5 separate regions of the Homo sapiens genome follow, and regions 2, 3, 4 and 5 are each linked to region 1. The links are contacts of gene promoters, found by promoter capture Hi-C in blood cells and fetal thymus (Javierre and others, 2016). All regions are on one chromosome and are shown on one strand. The core of a region is centred on a gene start or on the middle of the fragment in contact, and the rest is flanking DNA. Distances in the headings are between cores, read along the strand shown. Region 1 holds the start of TMEM126A (transmembrane protein 126A). Region 2 overlaps PICALM (phosphatidylinositol binding clathrin assembly protein). Region 3 overlaps PICALM (phosphatidylinositol binding clathrin assembly protein). Region 4 overlaps PICALM (phosphatidylinositol binding clathrin assembly protein). Region 5 overlaps PICALM (phosphatidylinositol binding clathrin assembly protein).

Evidence for each region. The method cuts DNA at HindIII sites, captures the fragments that hold promoters and counts their contacts. A CHiCAGO score of 5 or more calls a contact.
Region 2: a contact is called between a fragment that was not itself captured here and the fragment with the promoter of TMEM126A in region 1, in 5 of 17 cell types (naive CD8 T cells, naive CD4 T cells, activated CD4 T cells and 2 more). The highest score is 6.6, in naive CD8 T cells.
Region 3: a fragment that was not itself captured here is called in contact with the fragment with the promoter of TMEM126A in region 1 in 2 of 17 cell types (total CD8 T cells and activated CD4 T cells); the score reaches 6.1 in total CD8 T cells.
Region 4: a contact is called between a fragment that was not itself captured here and the fragment with the promoter of TMEM126A in region 1, in 1 of 17 cell types (naive CD8 T cells). The highest score is 6.4, in naive CD8 T cells.
Region 5: a fragment that was not itself captured here is called in contact with the fragment with the promoter of TMEM126A in region 1 in 4 of 17 cell types (naive CD8 T cells, total CD8 T cells, total CD4 T cells and 1 more); the score reaches 7.2 in naive CD8 T cells.

Annotation. Positions count from the first base shown.
Region 1 is chr11:85,646,618-85,649,317 of GRCh38, forward strand. It overlaps TMEM126A (transmembrane protein 126A), which reads left to right and starts at 1,350. Exons shown (of 5, transcript NM_032273.4): 1 at 1,350-1,472. RefSeq lists enhancers at 1,111-1,160, 1,331-1,600. The HindIII fragment of the contact is 2,186 bases long and covers 1,271-2,700 here.
Region 2 is chr11:86,031,268-86,033,967 of GRCh38, forward strand. It overlaps PICALM (phosphatidylinositol binding clathrin assembly protein), which reads right to left. Exons shown (of 20, transcript NM_007166.4): 2 at 202-344. Among named protein-coding and RNA genes, the nearest start is that of PICALM, 36 kb to the right of the region's middle. The HindIII fragment of the contact is 1,022 bases long and covers 742-1,763 here.
Region 3 is chr11:85,969,333-85,972,032 of GRCh38, forward strand. All of the region lies in intron 19 of PICALM (phosphatidylinositol binding clathrin assembly protein), which reads right to left. Among named protein-coding and RNA genes, the nearest start is that of PICALM, 98 kb to the right of the region's middle. The HindIII fragment of the contact is 995 bases long and covers 823-1,817 here.
Region 4 is chr11:85,986,662-85,989,361 of GRCh38, forward strand. The region is part of intron 13 of PICALM (phosphatidylinositol binding clathrin assembly protein); the gene reads right to left. Among named protein-coding and RNA genes, the nearest start is that of PICALM, 81 kb to the right of the region's middle. The HindIII fragment of the contact is 2,027 bases long and covers 354-2,380 here.
Region 5 is chr11:86,011,473-86,014,172 of GRCh38, forward strand. It overlaps PICALM (phosphatidylinositol binding clathrin assembly protein), which reads right to left. Exons shown (of 20, transcript NM_007166.4): 6 at 809-920. Among named protein-coding and RNA genes, the nearest start is that of PICALM, 56 kb to the right of the region's middle. The HindIII fragment of the contact is 2,569 bases long and covers 128-2,696 here.

The DNA.
Region 1 (2,700 bases), core at 100-2,599:
CCGAAATCACACCACTACACTCCAGCCTGGGTGACAGAACGAGACTCAGTCTCAAAAACAAAAAAAAAAATCAGCTGATCAGCTGGGCGTGGTGGCACACGCCTGTAATCCCAGCTACTCTGGAGGCTGAAGCAGGAGAATCGCTTGAACCTGGAAGGCAGAAGTTGCAATGAGCTGAGATCAGGCCATTGCACTCCAGCCTGGCCGACGAGAGCAAAACTCTGTCTAAAAAATAAAAAATAAAAATAAAAAAAAGACTAGGAATTTTCCTTCTTGTACACCTTCGTGAAAATAAGTCTTTCTATTTGTGCAAGTTTAGAAACTGCAATTACAGACTTCTTGGCACTATGGAGCCTAATGGTCAAGCAACCCTGCAATGGAGAGACAGTATAAAAATTATCTGGACAATGCAACACTTTATCACTTGTTCAGAAATTTGAGAGGATGAGAATAATTAAGATTTCTGATAATGTGTTATGATCATGTATTTATTGCTACAGTTAGTTATATATTTTTTGGCACAATGTTTACCTGCTAATCTTAATGGAGTTAAGATAAAATTCAATTGTAGGCATTTTTCCCTTCTATTGGGTTAATTAGTCCAAGCGAACTGAGCAAAGGTTGCAGGGAGCCCCAGCATGGCTGAGGAAGACCTGGTGAGGCATCCACTGGCTGCTGGGAGGAGAGCATTAGAGGTACCTTCTGAACAGCACTGTCCAATAGAAATATAATGCAAGCCACATATATAATTCTAAATTTTCTAGTATTTATACTTAAAAAGCAAGAAGAAATAAGATGACTTTCACCCAACACTGCTTCCAAATAAGCAGTACTCTGGAGAACACGAGAAATCCTCAGAAAAATAAGCTGCAGCTCTGAGGTGCTGATTATGGTAGGGCAATCAATACAGATCAAAACATGGCACAGGGAGCTTAAGTTCCTAGGGAGAGTAGAAAATCGATAGAGCCAAGAAATAGCTCACCTTTGACTTATTTTTAACCTGAGTAGCTATCATATGCCAAGAGCTGTGCAGTTTTCATTTACCCCATGCCAAGAACGTAAGTAGGCTCTACTGACCAGGAAGTTAAGTAATATGCCCGAGGTACGTTTTCAATGGAAGAGGCTGACTGAGGGTCACCCAACTTATATCTCGAAATTTCACAATTTCTACAAGTTCTGTCCTGGGAGGCAAGAGTAGGTGAAACGAGCACACTCTACGCCAGGCAAACAAACCTCAACGCTTAGCCTCCCGGCACCTCCTAGGGCCGGAAGCTTCTCAGCCCAAAGCCGCTGCTGGCTGCAACCTCCGTCCCGCAGTCCAATTAGCAGCCGCGACCCGGCGCCCGCCCACGCCGCGTCACGAGTCAGCCAAAGATGGCTGCGCCCAGGTAATTTGAGCAAAGGCCACAGTGAACTCCGGCGTGGCTGAGGAAGGAGGAGGCACCCACAGGCTGCTGGGAGGAGAGCATAAGGTACTGGTATTCCGGGGGAGGGGGTGAAGTAAATGTCCCGGTGTCAGGAGAAGCACGACGCGGTGACACGCTAGCTACCAGCAGCGCTGCGCGTAAATGAGAGCAAGTAGAAGTGTAGTTAGCTCTTCCTGCTGTCTTTTCACTTTGCACTCTAGAAGGAAAGACCTTATATTTAAATTAACTCAGTAGAAAGGAGAAATGCCTGAGATTGAATTTAATCCCAGGTTTACTGTCAATTTACAAGGTGACCACGGCCAAATTTGATTTTCAGAGGTCCCACTTTACTTCTCTTTCAGATAGGCCCCACACTGCCTATCTCTCAGAGCTCTTCCAAGAATGACATGAGATAGGTAACACAAAAATCTTTCGAAATATTTGTAGTTTTTACAGGCGGCGTTGTCTTTGATAGATATTTGTTATTAATATCGGAGACAAAATGCCCACAGGGGCTGCCCAGTCAGCACTTATACTGAATTGAGTGACTTAATTGCCCTCAGTACAATATATACATACTAAATTTGATTATATATTTCACCACCCCATACACAAAATCATTCAGAGCTCCTGTACAGCAGAGATTGTGTCTTATCATCTTATCGTAGCCAAGGCCCTCAAAAATTTGACTACCAGAAACCTAGACATAAATTTCTAAGGCTGCTTTGTACTTATTAGGTTAGCTTTAAGTCTAGAGATATGGAATGTCAAGGTAATCAACATTTCCAAATGACCTCTTATCGATATAAAACAGGTAGCAATAAATATTTAAACGAGTGCCTGTAATGTTGTAGGAAATGAGAAAATCTGGTTTCATAAAAGCATGTTTTCCTTTGTTGTTATCCCTGAACTGTTTTTTTTTTTTTTTTTGTAGACCGAGTCTCGCTCTCACCCAGGCTGGAGTGCAGTGGCGAGATCTCGGCACACTGCAACCTCCACCTCCCAGGTTCAAGCGATTCTCCTGCCTCAGCCTCCCGAGTAGCTGGGATTACAGGCAGCTGCCGCCGTGCCTGGCTAATTTTTGTATTTTTAAAAGACAGGGAGTTTCACCATGTTGGCCAGGCTGGTCTCGAACTCCTGACCTCAGGTGATCCGTCTGCCTTGGCCTCCCAAGGTGCTGGGATTACAGGCGTGAGCCACTGCATCCAGCCTTTGTTTTTCTTAACTGTTACCCTGAAACCTGAGCCAAATCTTCATCATTCACCATTCCCTTCACATTTTCACCCTAACTAGT
Region 2 (2,700 bases), core at 3-2,502, 380 kb after region 1:
TGATGTCCTCTGTGCTCTAACCCACTTTTTGCTTTCTGGCTTACAAGCTATCTTTCCTCAAATTACAGGGTCTATAATTATATTTCTGGCTAGGCACCTTGACCTTTGTACCTGGGAGCTGTTTCTGAAGTTTCAGTGAGAGAAGCTAGCTAACAATAAGTCAACACATCAGTATACTTGTTCAATAAAAATTCTGCTTACCTCATTTCCATACACCATCAAATGATGAGTTGTAATGAGAGATTTGAAGACCACCACCCAACTACTATTAGTAGTTCTTTCAAATAAACTGTCTGCCAACTGTGGGATGTTCACATTCATCTCATTTGTGCACTGAATTAAGTCTGCAATAAAAAATTTTTAAATGATTAATTTCCTCTGTGGTTTTAATTTATTGTTAATACCAGATCTGCATACAAACAGGCAAAAGATTTAACACAAAGTGGAGCAGTAATAGTTTGGAGATGTTGTTAAAAATCTCTCAATTAGAGCAATTGAGACTACCATAATCTACCTAAGAAGCAGGGTACCAATTAGAATCACATAAATGATCAACAATACCAAAAAATAAATCAAACTCCCTCAGGGTATAATTCTCTCTCAAGTACTTTGGTCATCTCAAAATGAATTGTTTCAAGGTTTTGAGGAACCTTCTATTTCCTTACTACTTAAAAACCTTCCATTAAAATACTGGTATTATTCATCTCTTTAAAATTAACTTTAACATTTTTCTTTAAATAAAGCTTATTTAAAGAAATCATCCATACAGAAGAATGAACAAAATGAAGATCAAACTATCTTTATGAACATCCACCCTAGAATGCTGTCTTTGCAACAGGAAGATAACAGGGCAGAGATCTGGTCTGTAATTGAGTTGGATCTGTTTGTTCATACAAAAGATTTATACTCCTTCTCTCCCCTCTGTTCTACTGAATTAGCTCAGATCAGTTGATAACTAGGTAATACTGAGAACAAAACTGGAAAAAAAGATTCTCAATAAAACTTAAGAAGAGTAACCTACAATCTGTTTAAGAGATATTATTCGTAAACTCAATGAAGAAAATGTAAAATAGGTTGGGTGCGGTGGCTCACCCCTGTAATCCCAGTACTTTGGAAACCTGAGGTGGGGTGGATCACCCAAGATCAGGAGTTCGAGACCAGCCTGGCCAATATGCTGAAACCCCATCTTTACTAATAATACCAAAAACATTAGCTGGGCTTGGTGGCGGGCATGGGTAATCCCAGCTACTCAGGAGGCTGAGGCAGGACAATTGCTTGAACCTGGGAGGCGGAGGTTGCAGTGAGCGGAGATAGTACCACTGCACTCCAGCCTGGGCAACAGAGTGAGACTCTGCCTCAATAAAAAATGTAATATAATATAATCCAATTTAGAGATATAACAGAGGAGAAAACCAAGAAATGAGTTACTTTTAAAATATATATAAAATGTAATGTATAAATGTCTCAGCTATACTACAATAAAGGGAAAAAAGTTATTCATGACATTAATTTGTTCACTTTTAATCTTCAGTGTGTAATGATTAAATATGAATTCAAATGATCTAACTTGGCCTTGATTGCTAGCAAGAAATGACAATGTAACTACCAACATTTACTTAAAATTTTTCCTTTAATAGGTCCAATTATTATATAAGTTAATATCTGATAAACACATGCATTTTAGATAAGCAGCTACGGTGGCCAATACTGCTTAAAGAACAAAGAACAAAACAGAGTGCCCATGGAACAACAGAATGACACAAAGCTTTCACAATTCAGACTATTTGCAACAAAAATGAAACAGTAAATCCAACTTGGATATGCATGCTTCAACTTCTGAGAGTAAAAAATGGAATTTAATCTCTGCCTTCTCTAGATCTTCATAGCACTTTATAACTGGCCTATGGCACTGAACATATTACACTAGACTTCAGTTTCAACGACAGTACTTTATACACACAAACACACACACAATTTAATACTATATAGTGCATGGTGCATGGTGTGTGTGTATATATATATACTGTACTATGTATGTTATAAAACATATGTGTATGTATATGTACATATATCCATACTATATTCCCTTTGTGATCTGTTCTTCCCCCCACTGCATCACTGCCATCTTCTTTGCAATGCCTCCCATATGCCAAGCACTCTTATCTCAGGTGTTTGGTACTGTTGTTCCTCCTGCCTAGAATTCTCTTCTGCTAGATACCTATGCTGCTTGCTCCCTTCGCTTCCTTCCCATAGCTATTTGCTAAAGTGTCACCATATTAGATAAACTTCCCTGAATATTTACGCAAAATAACAAAGCCTTGGGCATTCCCCTACCTCTAAACCCTCATTATCCCCCTTACTCTGCTTATTTCTCTCCAAAGCATTTATTGCCACTGAACTCATCTTAATTTGTTTAATGTCTTTCTCTCTCAATTAAAATGTTTTTAAGTTCCATGTGGGCAGGGCTTTTTTGTTCTCAACTCTATCCCCAAAGACCTAGAATAATGCCTCAAACATAAAGATCAGTCATATTTTTTAAGACACATTCATTTTGGTATGCATATGGGTATTCTTAACATGACATTTTTTCAAAAGCATCCAAGATTGTGTCCTTACATTAAGTTAAATCAACATCTTACAACTATCTGTACAACCTGCTATTCCCAAGAGGTTGAAAAACAAAGCCGAGCCCAATACATG
Region 3 (2,700 bases), core at 70-2,569, 320 kb after region 1:
AGCTCTCAAAACAAACACTTCAAAGAGCAAGGAAGAATTTTGGGAACAGCTGTAGAAATTAGATTTGATTAAAAGATTCCATTTTGATGGAATTTCATTTTTCATTTAAACTACCATTTACTTTACCCCATACAAAGAGATGGATGATCTCTGCCCTTAATAATTTTTTAATCCAATTGAAAAAAAGGGAACAAAACAATGAAAGAACAATTAAAAGGTAATTCATTAAGAAAAATCTTTTGGTTTCGGCTAGCATTCTACGGACAAAATTAATCCAAGAGACTGGCTGAGAATCATTAAACATGCTTTAAAGCATGAGAAAAACCTTATCTAGTTCAAAGATAAACAGTTTACTTTTTTCTTTTTAAAAAACAGACAGTCTCACTATGTTGCCCAGGTTGGTCTGGAACTCCTGCACTTAAGTGATCCTCCTACCTCAGCCTCCCAAAGTGCTAGTATTACAGACATGAGCCACTGTGTTCGGCCAACAGTTTAATTTTTAATTATTAAAAATGTTCAATCATAAACATAAAATAAAGCTGTCTTCATTCCTCAGGTGAGCCGTCTAATGTTTTAGCTCACCATAACTATTAGCCAACAAATCAAACCAATTTTGAACACCACTGCAAGTTATTATAATGGTTACAAGTAAGTGAAATGAGAGATTAAGGAGGGGCAGAGTAAGTTATATGATGAAAAAGGTAAGTTTACAAGGTGATTCATTTACTTAACAAATAATGTCCAAAAACTATTACATGTCAGGCACTGTTCTAGGAACTAGGGACAGAGAAGTAAACATGCCAGAGAAGCTTGCCTTCATGAAGCTTATAATCTAGTAAAGAAAGCCCTTGCTAGACTGGATGGATGCCAGGTAGTCACAAGGTCTGTAAGAAAAAATAATGCAGAATAAGGAAAAGAATTCCAGATCTCATAAGGATGTGAAAGGGACACCAGATGACTGAAGACTGGACAAAGAATAAACCCACTTTATGGCAGGTGAAGGACTTATGGAAAAGACAAATAACAGCAGAACACTGGATACTTATTGAGAATTGTAAAAGCATGGAATCGAAGAACTTGAATATTCCGTTAACTCATTATTACTCTTATAAATAGGGAGGCTTCATGAGGTTGTTTTAAGATGGAAGGAAAGCTGAGAAAAGGCTTTAAATGTTCAGTTATATTTAGATTCACCTCCTTAGGCTGGACACAGTGGCTCACACCTGTAATCCCAACACTTTGGGAGGCCCAGGAGGGAGGATCACTTGAGGCCAGGAGTTTGAGACCAGCCTGGCCAACATGGTGAAACCCTGTCTCTACTAAAAATTAGTTGGGTGTGGTGGCGTGTGCCTGTAATCCCAGCTGCCGGGGAGGCTGAGGCAGGAGGTTTAACACAGGAGGCAGAGGCTGCAGTGAGCTGAAATCGTACCACTGCCCTCCAGCCTGGGGGACAGAGTGAGACTCCATTACCCACACACAAAAAAGATTCACCTCCCTAAATGTTTGAGTATGGAGATGGGTATTACAAATACTGCCTACAAAAGATTGTTCCAATATTTACAAAACGGATTAAATCGGGGAGGCAGAGAACATGAGTGACTATTGCAAAACAAGTGTGAATAAAGAGGTTCCAAGACTGGGTGAAAGCTGTAGAATGCAAGGAGAAGGGTGGGTCTAATTATAGCAGAGGAATAATTAGTGAGACTTTGTGATTAGATACATGCAGAACAAAGGAATTACAAAATAATTAAAAGTAACATTAACAAATTTAAGATTCTGACTTTCAAATGATTCAAATGACTATGTAGAGAGACCAAAGCTTCTTCAAGCCATTTCATTGCTGCCTGATTTTATTTTCCTAGTTATCAATTTGCTTCCTTCATTTGCTTTTTCAGTAATACTTAAGTACTCATTTCAAATTTTATCTTTCAACTAGAAACTTATTACCCTAATGTTCTCATTCACTTCTCTTCTGATATAAAGTAATTAAGAAAAGGTATTTCTGTCCCTGTTTTTTTTCATGCACAAGGAAATTCTGGCACTTTTCTGGTGTTTCTGTGAAACGGTTATGTGGGTTTTAGAAGGCAACAGGACGTAAAACCTGGGTTAAGAGCAGATGCTGGGTGGGTACGGTGGCTCATACCTGTAATCCCAGCACTTTGGGAGGCCGAGGCAGATGAACTGCTAGAGCTCAGGAGTTCAAGAACAGCCTGGGCAACATGGCAAAACTCCATCTCTAAAAAAAATACAAAAATTAGCCAGGCATGGTGGCATACACCAGTAATCTCAGCTACTCAGGAGGCCAAGGCGGGAGGATGGCTTGAACATGGGAGATGGAGGTTGCAGTGAGCCGAGATCGCACCACTGTACTCGAGTCTGGGTGACAGAGCAAGACCCTGTCTCAAAAAAAAAAAACAAAACAAAAACAGAGCAGATGCTGGATGACAAGCAATTTTTTGTTTGTTTTGAGATGGAGTTTAGCTCTTGTCGCCCAGCCTGGAGTGCAATGGCCCAATCCAGGCTCACTGCAACCTCTGCCTCCCTGGTTCAAGCAATTCCCCCACCTCAGCCTCCCAAGTAGCTGGGATTCCAGACATGCACCACCAAGCCCAGCAATTTTTTGTATTTTTAGTAGAGACAGGGTTTCACCATGTTGGCCAGGCTGGTCTTGAACTCCCGACCTCAGGTGATCTACTCACC
Region 4 (2,700 bases), core at 117-2,616, 340 kb after region 1:
TTACAGGCGTGAGCCACCGCGCCCGGCCCTCGCCAACTTTTAATTTTTAAAAGTTATTTAAAACAAAAAGACCCAGCTAGTATCACTATTCTAAAAGAGAAAGTTTACAGAAATACACACACACACATACACGCGTGCGCACATGCTAAAAAGAGCAGGCGCTGAGCTCTGAGTTAAGGTTAACTTTATGATATCATTACATTGTCCTGCTTACTCTTCCATTTCACCAAGGCCCAGTGAAAACTTTCTCACTAACCAGCACCAATCCACAGTTTATCATTTAGAAACCACTGGCCTGCAGGTTAAATCTCAAGAGGACAATAATAAATTAATTGAAAAGTACAAGATCAACAAGCTTTGGGGACAGAAAGACATTCCAAACACCTTTTACAAAATTTGGGTGGATTGTTAATTGATTTTGGTGGTAGTTTCACAATAAATTAGGACTCATACTTTTTTGTCAAAGTAACTACTACCATTTATTAAACACTACTAAGCACTAAGCAAGGGCTTTATAAACAGGGTATTATTTAAACCTCACATAAACCCTATGACATAGTTATTATTATCCCTGTTTTACAGATGAGGAAACAAAGAGAGATTACATAATGTACCCAAGGTCAAAGATTTAGTAAGCATCAGAACCAAGACTTGAACCCCCATTTGTTTGATTCTAGAATCTATTAGGGTTTTCAGTTTAATCCCAAGTATTTCACCTTACATAATATAGTAAGTAGAAAAAGAAATTTTTTACTATTGCTATAACTATTATTAAAAACAACCCAAATTTTATGAACTTCTTGAGCTTTTCATTGCTAATATTAGACCAAAAAAAGTGAATAATCTTTGGCAATTTTAAAATCTAAAAGCAATAAAGAAAAAATCAATGTTTAGGATTTTAGTTGATGACTACATAATAATTTAGGTGAGAAGTACATTCTAATTATGATGTGGTCCACATATACAAGAATTTTAAATTCTTTAAATTTTCTGAGAGATAGGGTCTTGCATGTTGCCGAGGCTGGCCTCAAACTCCTGGCCTCAAGCTATCCTCCTGCCTCAGCTTCCTAATTAGCTGGAATTATGGGTACCAGCTACTGTACCCAGCTCCCGAGATGGTTTTTAGTAGTAGTCATTTTGATACTTTTATATACCTAGCAAAGTGCTAGATGTTACATAGTCATGTATGTAAACTTCAGGACAATCCTGCAAGACACTATTATCCCAACTTGCATAGCCTTAAAAAGGTTAAATACTTGCTTAAAGTCAAGTTCATGAAGCAGAACTAAAATTCAAACCTAAGTTCACTAGGCTCCAAGCATATACCATCAAATGCCCTAATAAATTCCATTTTAAAATACATTTAGTCCTGTCCAATTCTTGTAATCAAGAGCCTCAATTCTTTAGTTGTGTCAAACATTCTTTTTAATGCCAACTTAACTACAGTAATAACTACTATGCACACAGAAAATATCAGCTGGACTTTTGAGGTTTTATTGCTACCACACTGGCCTTGAACATATGTGGAAAGACATAGATAATACAAAACTTCAGATTCCATAACCTTGTAATATTAAAACGTTTTCATGCTTCTGAAAATTTAAGGTTTTGAGAATGGAGTAAAGTAAGAAGATGATAAGCAACTATTCATAAAACCACCAAGTGTTTAATTAAGGCAAATGAAGTTAGGCAAAAACTAGTGTGTTCTCTGAAAGCAAATAAGTATATTTTTTCTTACCAAGTTTATAAAAACTCATTTTAAGAAAAAAAAAATCCTTCCTGCATAAATAAGTTGTAAAGATACTGTTATCTAGCTCCAAATGAGCTGGCTACAGTAGAAGAAACAAGGCACATAAAGGAAGTATTAGGACAAACTTAAGTGACACAAAAAATTCTGACAAGGCATACAAGGCAGGAAGGCAGGAAAGGAGTAAGGAAAGGGAGAAAAAGAGGGGAAGGGGAAGGAAAGAATCAGGGAAGCAGCTAGGGAGGCACGTGAGGAAGAAGAGGAAGAAGAGAAAAAAAAGAAAGAGAAGAGGAGGAACAGTTATGAGTGGGATGGGTAATCAAGAAAAACAAAAAATGGGGGGAGCCCAAGCACTTGGCATTCTTCAAATTACAACTTGCTAAAAAAAGAACTTAAGGCTCCATGAAGTATTAAAAAAACATATTCCGTTTGCATAAATTAGAAAGAAAAACCCAACACTGTATCTCATTAGAAAAGAAATATTAGGCAGTTGGCTTTTTAGCCAACACTATCGTGTCCTCTAATGTGTGGTTTTACAGCTAAGAAAGCAAGCCTACACACTTTCACAGACACTCACATATGCAGCATAGTTAAGACCACGACTCTCCTTTATGTACAATTCAGTGTTCTTAAAGCTTCAATGAGGACAAGCTACCTATTACACTGATCATTGTATCAGATAAATGTCTTCCCTCTGTCAAGGTCAGAGGCTATCTAGATACATAGCTCTTCTGATTTTTCTGGATTGTTCTTAATCCTATAGAGTAAGGGCTGGCAACTTGTATCAAAATGACATGAAGGAATTACTGCAATGAATTATCACACTTTGGATATATATGTGTTTTAAGCTATTAGACTAGTCATATTTTTACAACACCTGACTTGGAACTTTGTCTGATCTACTAACTTGCTTTCTAGTTAATTCTTCCTTCTCTTCCTTCCTCTCACTTATA
Region 5 (2,700 bases), core at 162-2,661, 360 kb after region 1:
TAGTATATTATCTAAGATAACAACTTTACCATGCCCAAATGTCACTCAGAAAGTTCATTTAAGTTTAATGTATACATAGAAAAGGTTAATTTATACTAATTATAGTATTGAAGACTATGCCTTCCAAAGCTTTATAGAAAAACCTTTATTTTTCACTTGTGAAAAAATAAGCCAAATTTCCCTATCCCTATAGATTAAAGCATCCCTGAGTAAGTCCACGTTACTTCAGACTATAAAAAACAGATTTAAATTTTTTAAAAGTTCATTATGGAGTTGATTATGAGAAAACAATATTCTTCTGGGACAAAATATTTGTTTTTTTCCCATCTTTTTTTATTGTGGTAAAATACCTGTAACATAAAACTTACTATCCTTTTTGTTTTTTTTTTTTTTTTGAAACTGAGTTTCGCTCTTGTTGCCCAGGCTGGAGTACAATGGCACGATCTAGGCTCACTGCAACCTCCGCCTCCTGGGTTCAAGCAATTCTCCTGCCTCAGCCTAAAACTTACTATCTTAACCCAGCTAAATTTTAAAGGCACTTTTATATTTCTAAAAATTAATAAAATGGGTGGAAAAAACATAGATACATCTAAAAAATAAAGTTCATCTTGCTGAACATCCTGGGTATAAAAATATGTAATCACTTGCAGAAGTAATTAGGTATAAAACTCTTTTCTCCAAATTAACTGTTACAATGAATGAATATATCATAATAAATTTTTAGCCAGCTTTAAGTAACAACTCAGTCAATATTGTTTATCCATATGACACAAGATAAGAAATGTTATTAGGCTACAGCAGTATTTACCCAACAAATTAATAATTCCTTCATTGTATGCTGCAAACAGTCTAATGGCATCTTTGAACAGGAGCATGAAGGCAGCATTTATTACCCCATTTGTAAGTTCATTGCTATTAACCTAGGGAAAAATTGGAAAATAAAATTAGCTAATCTTAGGTTTTAAATGACATTGACAAAAAGATTTCCTTCAAATTAAGATACAGTAAATTCATGCATTAGGCATGTTAGTGAAAAATACATTTATTTTCTCTAATACATACATAAAGATCACGGTGCAGTAGCTACCATATAAATGAACATTATTTATTATTATTAAATTTGCTGTAACCAGATAATTGTATTTATTTGACTAAAAGAATACTGGAAATATTTTTAGTTTTATCTCAAGGAATAAATCAAAAAGATAAACCAAATTAATTCTAAGTTCTTTTTTAGCACATGAAAATTAACTCGTTATATATAGAAAAACTAAGCACAAAATTGAATGGCAAACAAAAAACTGGTAAAAAAGTTATTTGCAGACTATCTAGTAGAGCTGATGTCCATTATATAGGGAGAATCCTAATAATAAATAAAGTAAATGAAAACAATTTACAAAATAAAAAATACATATGGATAATAACGTGAAAAGAAATACAACTTCACTTATCAGGTAAATTAAAATACAATAATCAAATCAAATTACTAAAATATCCTTTCCTGAACATCAGACTATATTACTCAGTGCCCATAAGAATGAAAAAAGAAAAGAACACGGTAGCTCATGCCTGTGGTCCCAGCACTTTGTGAGGCCGAGGCAGGAGGATTGCTTGAGCCTGGCAGTTTCAAATGAGACCAGCCTGGGCAACACAGCAAGACCTTGTCTCTACAAAAAACTAAAACCAAGAAAAGGCAGCTGAGCATGGTGGTGTACCCCTGTAGTCCCAGCTACTCAGGAGGCTGAGGTGGGAGGATTGCTTGAGCCCAGGAGTTGGAGGCTGCAATGAGCTATGATCATGCCACAGAACTCCAGCCAGGGTGACAGAGAAAAATGCTGTCTCAAAAAAACAAAAAAAAGATGAAAAAGCAAAAACAGACACCTGTTGAGAAGTTAGTGGCTCACCCTTTTGGAATATAAGCAATATTTATTAAAAATTTAAATGTTTATATTATTTGAACCACCACATTCTTTTTCTGGGTGTTAAACCTATTGAAATAGGTTTACAAATAGAAACACACACACACACAGAGGGAGAGACAGACAAGAGACAGAGAGAGGAGAGAGAATTGAGTGTAGCACTGTTTAGGATAAAAAAACAGAATAAACATCTATCAACAGGAGGATTAGATAAATTGTTATTATATAACAAAGTACAATACAGACATTGAAAAGAATAAGAAATTTTAAACAAATACAATATATTAAGAAAAATATGCATGGTTGGACCCTGAGATTCTATACAAACCAAAATAATGTTGAATAACTGCATCAGTACCCCATGCCTTCTAGAGCAGGGGTCAGCAAACTTTTTTTTGTAAAGGGTCAGATGGTAAATATTTTAGACTGTGGGCCACACAGTCTCTGTCATAACTTTTGAACTCTGCTGTTGTAACATAAAACAGCCATAGATAATATGTATCAGTGAGCTTGGCTGTGTTCCAATAATACTATTGAGGACACTGAAGTTGGAATTTCATGTAACTTCCACCTGTTACAAAATACCATTTAATTATTTTCAACCACTTAAAAAACATACAAAAACAGGCAGTAAGCTGTAGTTGGATAATCTCTGTTTTAGTCTATGAAATACCTGTAAGATTTATTGAATGTTTACTGAACACTTACTATGTGCCACATTAATAGGCAATGGGGGTACAACAGAGAACAAAAGTGACCTAGTTCCTGCCCTGAAGAAGCT